Regions from separate parts of the Homo sapiens genome. Here regions 1 and 2 are each linked to region 3. Evidence: promoter capture Hi-C in human tissues and cell types (Jung and others, 2019). All regions are on one chromosome and are shown on one strand. Each heading gives the region's core, a stretch centred on a gene start or on the middle of the fragment in contact. The rest is flanking DNA. Distances are from core to core; before and after follow the strand shown. Region 1 holds the start of CELF5 (CUGBP Elav-like family member 5). Region 2 holds the start of NCLN (nicalin). Region 3 holds the start of ZNF57 (zinc finger protein 57).

What was found. Contacts are between HindIII fragments. The study calls those that stand out against the background at their distance.
Region 1: the fragment with the promoter of CELF5 here is called in contact with the fragment with the promoter of ZNF57 in region 3 in 1 of the 25 tissues and cell types used here (dorsolateral prefrontal cortex).
Region 2: the fragment with the promoter of NCLN here is called in contact with the fragment with the promoter of ZNF57 in region 3 in 1 of the 25 tissues and cell types used here (dorsolateral prefrontal cortex).

Annotation. Positions count from the first base shown.
Region 1 is chr19:3,223,282-3,225,981 of GRCh38, reverse strand. It overlaps CELF5 (CUGBP Elav-like family member 5), which reads right to left and starts at 1,321. Exons shown (of 13, transcript NM_021938.4): 1 at 984-1,321. The coding sequence starts at 1,242. RefSeq lists a silencer at 1,381-1,500. The HindIII fragment of the contact is 19,492 bases long and covers 1-2,700 here.
Region 2 is chr19:3,184,669-3,187,368 of GRCh38, reverse strand. It overlaps NCLN (nicalin), which reads right to left and starts at 1,439. Exons shown (of 15, transcript NM_020170.4): 1 at 1,155-1,439. The coding sequence starts at 1,338. RefSeq lists a silencer at 953-1,522 and enhancers at 2,033-2,172, 1,479-2,361. The HindIII fragment of the contact is 11,170 bases long and covers 1-2,700 here.
Region 3 is chr19:2,899,644-2,902,343 of GRCh38, reverse strand. ZNF57 (zinc finger protein 57) reads right to left here and starts at 1,416. Exons shown (of 4, transcript NM_173480.3): 1 at 1,296-1,416. The coding sequence starts at 1,298. RefSeq lists enhancers at 1,219-1,368, 1,228-1,799 and a silencer at 1,979-2,028. The HindIII fragment of the contact is 10,438 bases long and covers 1-2,700 here.

The DNA of each region.
Region 1 (2,700 bases), core at 72-2,571, 320 kb before region 3:
GGATGCCATCGGAGGGAGAATCCAGTGGGAGGGAGGCAGACAGGCCTGAGGCCGCCCACGCCTCCCTCCTCCTCCCTGTCCACCCCAGAATTTGGGCTCTGCCCAGATGGACACGTCCAAGCTCATTGTCTTGGGCCTGAGACCCCAACACATTGCTAAGAGGCTCGGCCAGTTTCAACTTGAGCCCAAGGTGGAGGCGGGGGAGGGGGAGGGCAGAGAAATGGAGGAGAGAATGCTGATCCACGCGGAGGTGGTGGGGCCAGGGGGTGGGCAGCGACGGGAGCCTCTCCGCCACCCGAGGCAGGCGAGGCGGGCGCGTCCCCCCGAGCCGGGCGCCCCCAACCCGTCTTCCTTTGTAGTTACCGATTAGCCTGGGGTCCTGGGCATCCGTGTCCCCCGCGGCCGGACCTGCCCCGCCGGCCTGGCTTTGTGAAAATAACCAAAGCAATGGAGTCCGCAGGTGCAAACTTCCCCGACGGGGCCTGGGGAGGCTGAATGAATGGGGGTGGGGGGGCAGGGAGGGGTGCCGGCGTTCCCGAGGCTCCCCTGGCAAACGGGCAGGAAAGAGTGGGGTGAGGGAGGGAGGAAGGGGTGGGGGTCTGGGGGATGGAAGGGTGAGGGAGGGAGGGAGGGAGAGAGAGGGTGCTGTGGGGGGAAGGATGAGAGGTCGAGGGAGATGGGAGAGAAGAGAAAGGGAGAGAGAGAGGGAGAGAGAGAGGGAGAGAGAGAGGAGATGCCGGAAGGTGGGGAGGGAGGGAGAGGGGGCGGAGGAGGGGAGGGGGCCCGCTCGGATCTGTCAGCTGCACCCCCAGAGAGGGGAGGAGGGGTGGGTGGGAGGGAGGGGGTAAGAACCGATGCTCCGGCAGAGGCAGGCAGAGGAGGGAGGTGAGCAGAGGAGGGATGGTGATGGGGGAGAGAAGATGCCGGAAGGTGGGGTGGGAGGCGGAGGGAGGGGGAGAGGGGGGAGGGGGCCGGGCGCCCACCTTTGTGCATCCCCGTGTAGGGGTCTTTGAGCACCGTGAGCTCGTAGATGCGGCCGAACTGCTCGAAGAGCGGCTTGAGGTCCTTCTCGTCCAGGTGCCGCGGGATCTGGCCCACGAAGAGTTTGATGGCGTCCAGGTCCTTCATGCCGTCGGGCTGCCCCCCGGGGGGCTCGGGCCCGCTGCTGCCCACGGGCGAGGGCCGCGGCTGCAGGAGCTGCTGCTGCTGCCGGCGCGCCTCGCTCTCCGTCAGGCGGGCCATGGCGGGCGCGGGACCGAGCCGGCGGCGGCGGCGGCGGGCGGCGGGCGGACTCGCAGCTGGAGCGGCGGCCGCGCCTCCCGCCTCCCTCCCGGGCCCCCGCGCCCTCCTCCCGCCCGCGCCCGCCCCGGCATCGGGACCACAAAGGCGGCTCCGCAGCGGCCCCTGGCGGCCGCGCCGCGCGGGGCAGCCGGCGCCTCCCCGCATCCCCGGGCCGCGGGGGGAAACTGAGGCCGGAAGGCCCCGGGCCCCGCCTACGGGTGGGCGAGGGCGGAGCTGCGGGCGGGACGGGCCTTAGCCGGCTTCCCAGGGGTCCCCGCCGGCTCCCGCGGAGGGCATCGGCCGGAAGAATGTCAAAAGTTGCTGGGATAATGTAGGGGGCTTGTCGTTGAAAGCGCCCGTGATCCTTAAAGTAGGTAACTCATCAATAATATTAATAACACTAATAATATGGCTGGGCGCGGTGGCTCACGCCTGTCATCTCAGCACTTTGGGAGGCCGAGGTGGGTGGATCACTTGAGGTCAGGAGTTCGAGACCAGACTGGCTAACACGGTGAAACCCCGTCTCTACTAAAGAATACAAAAATTAGCTGGGCTCGGTGGCGGGGGGTGCCTGTAATCCCAGCTACTCGGGAGGCTGAGGCAGGATAATCACTTGAACCCAGGAGGCGGAGGTTGCAGTGAGCCAAGATTGTGCCATTGTACTCCAGCCTGGGCAACAAGAGCAAAACTCCGTCTTGGTAAAAAAAAAAAAAAAAAACACCTAATAATAACAACACTAATAATAATTAATCAAGAGCAAGACAAAGTGCTCCCACTAATCACGACAGCACAGGAGAAATGGTAAAAGTATCTTCCAGTTCTATAGGGTGCTTACACATAGAAAGTGTCCTTGGCCCTTTAAGTATGTAACTCATCAATAATGTCATCAACAAGGAGGGAGACTGGCTCGCACTGATAATGACAGGATAGGAGAAATACTGAAGTATCTCCCAGCTCTAAAGTGCCCGTGATCCTTTACGTATGAAACTCATCAATAATATTAATAAAAATAATAATACGTGCTGGCCGTGGTGGCTCACACCTGTAATCCCAGCACTTTGAGAAGCAGAGTCAGGAGGACCACTTGAGCCCAGGAGTTGGAGACCAGCCTGAGCAACATAGTGAGACGCCATTGCTGTAAAAAATAAGAAAACAGGCCAGGCACGATGGCTCACACCTGTAATCCCAGCACTTTGGGAGGCTGAGGCAGGTGGATCACCTGAGATCAGGAGTTCGAGACCAGCCTGATCAACATGGAGAAAACTCTGTCTCTACTAAAAACACAAAAATTAGCCAGGCATGGTTGTGCATGCCTGTAATCCCAGCTACTCAGGAGGCTGAGGCAGGAAAATCGCTTGAACCCGGGAGGCGGAGATTGCAGTGAGCCGAGATTGCGCCATTGCACTCCAGCCTGGGCAA
Region 2 (2,700 bases), core at 190-2,689, 290 kb before region 3:
AGGGAAGGCCAGGCCTTGACTTCCAGGGACCTGAGGGGCCAGGCTGAAAAGAAGAAAAACCAGGGACCAGGTTCTGGAATGTCAGGGACAGCTATAGCCAGGCAAAGACAAGGGGATGTGGAATGGTCTAGACACTGGGGTCAGGGCCACGACGGGAGGGGGCGAGGCTGTTGAGTGGGAGACTTGCAGAATGCAAGGGCAAGGGGGTGCGAATTTGGAAAGGGAAGAGGAAATCCTGGAAAGATGGAACAAGTGGGGTTCTGGGAAGTGGGTGTGAGGAGGCTGAGCTGAGGGCGTGGGTATGCATCAAAGGCGGGACAGAAAGGGGGTCAAAGGGAACCCCAGGCGAGTGGACTGAACTGGGGACGTGGGAGGAGACCAGGGAAGCTGGGCTAGCAGATTCTGAAACATGACTCACGAACTGGGACCAGAGAGCGTCAGGGGTCTGGGGACAAATGTGCCCTTGACGTGGGGGCCGGTGACTAGAGCGAGAAAATTCAGGGGAGTTGAATTTGGGCACTGGACAAAATGCACTTGGCACCCAGGGCCGTGGGAGGGGGTGGGGAATGCTGGACCACCGCGTCGGGTGGCTCAGCCTGGCAGAAATCAGTGCAGGGACCTTTAACTCCAAACGCAGTCAGCTAAAGGCGAGAGGCCTGGGAACACGGACGTGACCCAGTGAATCCAGAGACCAACCAGATGGTCTCCAGAACAGGACCCTGGGAGCTGGAGGTCAGGACGGGAGCGTCTGCTCAAGTGAGCCCGGACCAGGAAGCCTAAGGGGCGGAGGGGGCCCAGGAGGGAGAAACTCGGCAAGGCAGGCAGACGCCGGCCCAGCTGGGGACAGGAGAGAGGGGACTTAGGGCTCCAGGGACGCGGGACGCTTGGCCCGGCCATGGGTTCCGGGGCAGGGAGACCTAGGCAGGGGCCGGGGGCTGTGGGAGCGAGCGCGGGGGGTCCCTGGGCGCTAGGCAAGGAGAGCAGGGATTCCAGGGCGCCCGGGGGTCCAGGGCGGCAGGGCTCTGCCTCGCCTGGGGCCTGAGCATGGGTCGGGCAGCCCAGGCCGGAGCTAGGGATCGGCCTGGGGATCGCCGGGCCGGAGTGGCGTGGCCGGGGAGCCCGGGGAGCCCCGAGGGTGGGCCGGGGACACGCACCGTAGGGCTGGCCCTGCAGGTCGTACTGCTGCATGCGGTACACGGTGAACTCGTGCGCGGCGTCGGCGGCAGGCAGCGGCGGCGCCACCAGCAGCAGCACAGCGGGCAGGAAGACGATGAAGCCGAGCGGCAGACAAGACGCCTTCAGCATGTTCTCCAGCACCTCGCCCGCTTCCTCCAGCATCCTGGCCGGCGGCGGGGCCGCGCGGGGCGGCAGCTGGGACGGGACGGCGGCGGCGGCGGCTCCCGCGGACTCACCTCGGCATGGGTAGCCGCCGGGGTCCTGCGGGCGCCGCGCGGGGCAGCCCGCACTCGCCCTGAGGTCCTGTGGGCACCGCGGCGAACCGCCCCGCCAGCCGCGCTGCCTGTCGGGAATTGTAGTCCGTCCGTCCGGCGCTCGCGGAGCCCTGTGGGAGTTGTAGGCCCACTCTGGAACTCCCGGAAGGTGCGGCAGGCTGTTCGGCTAATACCGTTGAGGTTTCACATAAACTCCAAGTCATAAAATGCAATAAAATGCTTTAAAAAACTATTTCGCGATATCACTTTCTTAACCTTGTCTTTGGCGTTGGGGGAGCTAGGGTGAGGGGCGAAAGGTGGGGACAGGACGTGACCTTGCGACCTGGAAGGAAGTTGGGGATAAAGAGAAAAGGAAGTGCCTGCCTGGCGCGCTAGGTCTTCTGGGAGTTGTAGTCCCGTCAAACACACAAAGGGTCACGGGAACTGTAGTCGTCCTGGCAGAAATTGCTGAGAAAAACAAAAATCACTTAAAACTCCCGAGGATGTAGATGTCAAACTCCACGAAGGCAAAAACTTTTGTCTGTTTTGTGCATATGATGTATCCCCGGCATCTAGCACAAGACCTGGCGCACGGCGGGTGGCCTATACCATTTTTGAATGAATGAATGAAAAATAGAAAGTCATGATAGTCAGTTCCTAAGGGAGGCCGCAGTGGGTTGTGGGACTTGTAGTCTGGAACCTGCGGTTTGTGCAGGGGTCGGTGGCAGGTATTTATATTTATCTTTATTCATATTTGGGGCATACTTATACTAAAAAAGTATTTGTTGTTCATCAGAAATTTAAAGTTAAAACCCAGTGTCTCAGGGCTGGAGGTACCTAAGGAACGTCCCTTTGTACAGATGGGGAGACTGAGCCCCAGGGTGCAGCAGACAGTAGCCCTGGCTCTCAGCACGTTATCATCCCAGGCTCCGTACAGCTGCCTAAGGAGTCAGGGCTTCCTTTCTGTCCCAAGTGAGAAGTGGCATTGGTGCCGATTAAGAGCCTGGGCTCAAATCCCAACTCCTCCATTTCCCAGCTGTGTGGCTTTGGGCAAGTCGCTTCACCTCTCAGAGTCTCAGTTTCCTCAGATATAATGATAAAGAATCAAGCACTCTCCCTGCCAGCAGCATGTGAGAATTCTGTTTGTTTGTTTGTTTGTTTGTTTGTTTTTGAGATGTAGTCTCTGTCACCTAGGCTGGAGTGCAGTGGCTTGATCTCAGCTCACCGCAACCTCCACCTCCTGGGTTCAAGCAATTCCTGTGTCTCAGCC
Region 3 (2,700 bases), core at 167-2,666:
AAAAAGCCAAACAGGAGAACAGTACAGTACATTTACTGACACCGGCTGCCCGAATAAAGCTTTCACAGCATTAGTGATACCCTGCAACAAAACCCCCAGGGCAGCTAACTCCCACCGCTGAGGTCGTCCCCCAAACTGCCTCTGACCCCCAGGCCGTCCCTTGCCATCCCCCCAAGCTGTCCCCTGTAAGGTTCTCTGAGCTGGCCGCACCATGGTCAAGCCCCCCGCCCTTGTGATAATGTACTTTGTGATATTCCCCCGCCCTTGTGAATGTACTTTGTACGATACGTCCTCCTCGCCCTTGTGAATGTACCCCGCCCTTGTGACAATACACGCTCGCGCCCTTGTGAAGGTACTTTGTAATATTCCTCCCAGCCCTTGTGACAATACATCCCCCAAGCCCTTGTGAATGTACTTTGAAACATCGTCGCCGCCCTTGAGAATGTACTTTGTAACACCCACCAACTGTCCTCAAAAAAACTGCTCCTAACTCCGATGCCTGTCCCAAACCTATAAGGACTAATGATTGCCGGGCGCGGTGGCTCACGCCTGTAATCCCAGCACTTTGGGAGGCCGAGGCGGGCGGATCACAAGGTCAAGAGATCGAGACCATTCTGGCCAACATGGTGAAACCCTGTCTCTACTAAAAACAAAAATTAGCCGGGCGTGAGGGCGGGCGCCTGTAATCTCAGCTACTCCGGAGGCTGAGGCAGGAGAATCGCTTGAACCCGGGAGGCGGAAGTTGCAGTGAGCCGAGATCACGCCACTGCACTCCAGCCTGGCGACAGAGCGGGACTCCGTCCCAAAAATAAAAAAAATAAAAAAATAAAACCAATAATAATCCCATCACCCTTTGCTGAGTCCTTTCTCAGACTCAGCCCACTTGCACCCAAGTGAGTAAACAGCCTTGTGGCTCACACTAAGCCTGCTCAGGTGACCTCTTATACGGACACGCGTAACATCCCCAACCTGCTGACCGTCCCTTGCCGTCCCCCCAAACTGGTCCCTGACCCCTGACCGCCCCTACCGTCCCCCCAAACTACCTCCAGCCCCCCTCCTGCCCAGGCCTCCCCCTAAGTTACCCCCAAGCTCCTTGCCGCCCCTTCCGTCCCCCCAAACTGCCCCCAGTCCTCCAGCCCGGCCGCTGTGATGGCGTCCCCGGGTCCCAGGTGCTAGTCCTGCGCCGCCCCGCGCGTCCCTCAGCCAATCCCGGCCGCAGACTTCGGCGGACTCTGGTTCCAGCCGGTTCCCGTCGCTCCGACCGTCCCCTGGCTCTGCTCCTGCCTCGCACTCACCATGTCTCCCCTGCTCCTGGGCTCTCCAAGGCGAGCTCTCCGTGGCCTCGCGGCCGGCGCAGCTGAAAGGTACAGGTACTCCCGGGCCGCTCGTGGTAGGCAGGGCACGCGCGGCAGGGAGGACGAAACGTCCCGCCCTCGGGGCCTCGGAGCTCAGGAAGCGGCGCCCTGATTGGACAATCTCTAAGCCCCCGCCCTTTCAACGCTCTGAGCGGACAGCGTTTTGGACACGCCCCCTTCACCCCTGGGGCCTTCGATTGGACACTACTGCAAACCTGCAATCCGCTTCCCGGTGTCCGCCCCGTGCCTTGATTGGACAGTTTTCCGGACCCGCCCCCGGAGCACCTGATTGGAAGATAACTTCCGCGCCGCCCCGCCTCCTGTCGCCCGAGTGACCGGCGCGTAGCCAACGCTAGTGGCTGACCCGCCAGCGGTGGACACTCCCGTTTGCGCGAACTCGCTCTGGCCCGGGGTGAGCCCAACCTCTCCCCGCAGCTCGGCCGCGCCTCCCGCGTCCTTCTCCCGAACGGGCACGAGAAGTCCAGACTCAGTTTCCCCACGGAGCAGCCGGAGTGCTGCGTGGAGGGGAGGGGCGAGCGAGCGGCGTGGGTCGCGTGGGGTGAGCCCTTCGTGGGGCGGGGTCCTCAGCCGTGACGTCACCGCGCTGCCCCGCGTGGGCGCGGACCCCATGGAGGCCCTGCCCCGTGCTGGAGCACGTGCTGTCAGTGTCCTGATTTTTTTTTTTTTTTTTTTTTTTTTTTTTGAGGTGGAGTCTCGCTCTGTCGCCCAGGCTGGAGTGCAGTGGCGCCATCTCGGCTCACTGCAAGCTCCGCCTCCCGGGTTCAGGCCATTCTCCTACCTCAGCCTCCCGAGTAGCTGGGACACAGGCACCCGCCACCACGCCGGCTAATTTTTTTGTATTTTTAGTAGAGACGAGGTTTCACCGTGTTAGCCAGGATGGTCTCGATCTCCTGACCTCGTGATCGGCCCGCCTCGGCCTCCCAAAGTGCTGGGATTACAGGCGTGAGCCACCGCGCACGGCCAGTGTCCTGATTTTTTTACCCAAACGTTTCCCAGCCTCCTGTCCTTCCCACAGGCCCCTGCACTTTGGCTCGCCCCCGACATCTGAGCCTGCACTAAAATAAGGACCAAACCTCGAGTCACCTGATCCCGAAAATGGGCGGACCCCAGGGAGCCCCTATCCTGTCTGGCCTCGCTGGATTTGTTTTTTTGTTGGACATTGTTTTTTGTTTTATTTATTTTTTTATTTTGAGACGGAGTCTCACACTGTCGCCCCGGCTGGAGTGCAGTGGCGTGATCTCGGCTCACTGCAACCTCCGCCTTCAGGGTTAAAGCGATTCTCCTGCCTCAGCCTCCCGAGTAGCTGAGATTACAGGCGCCTGCC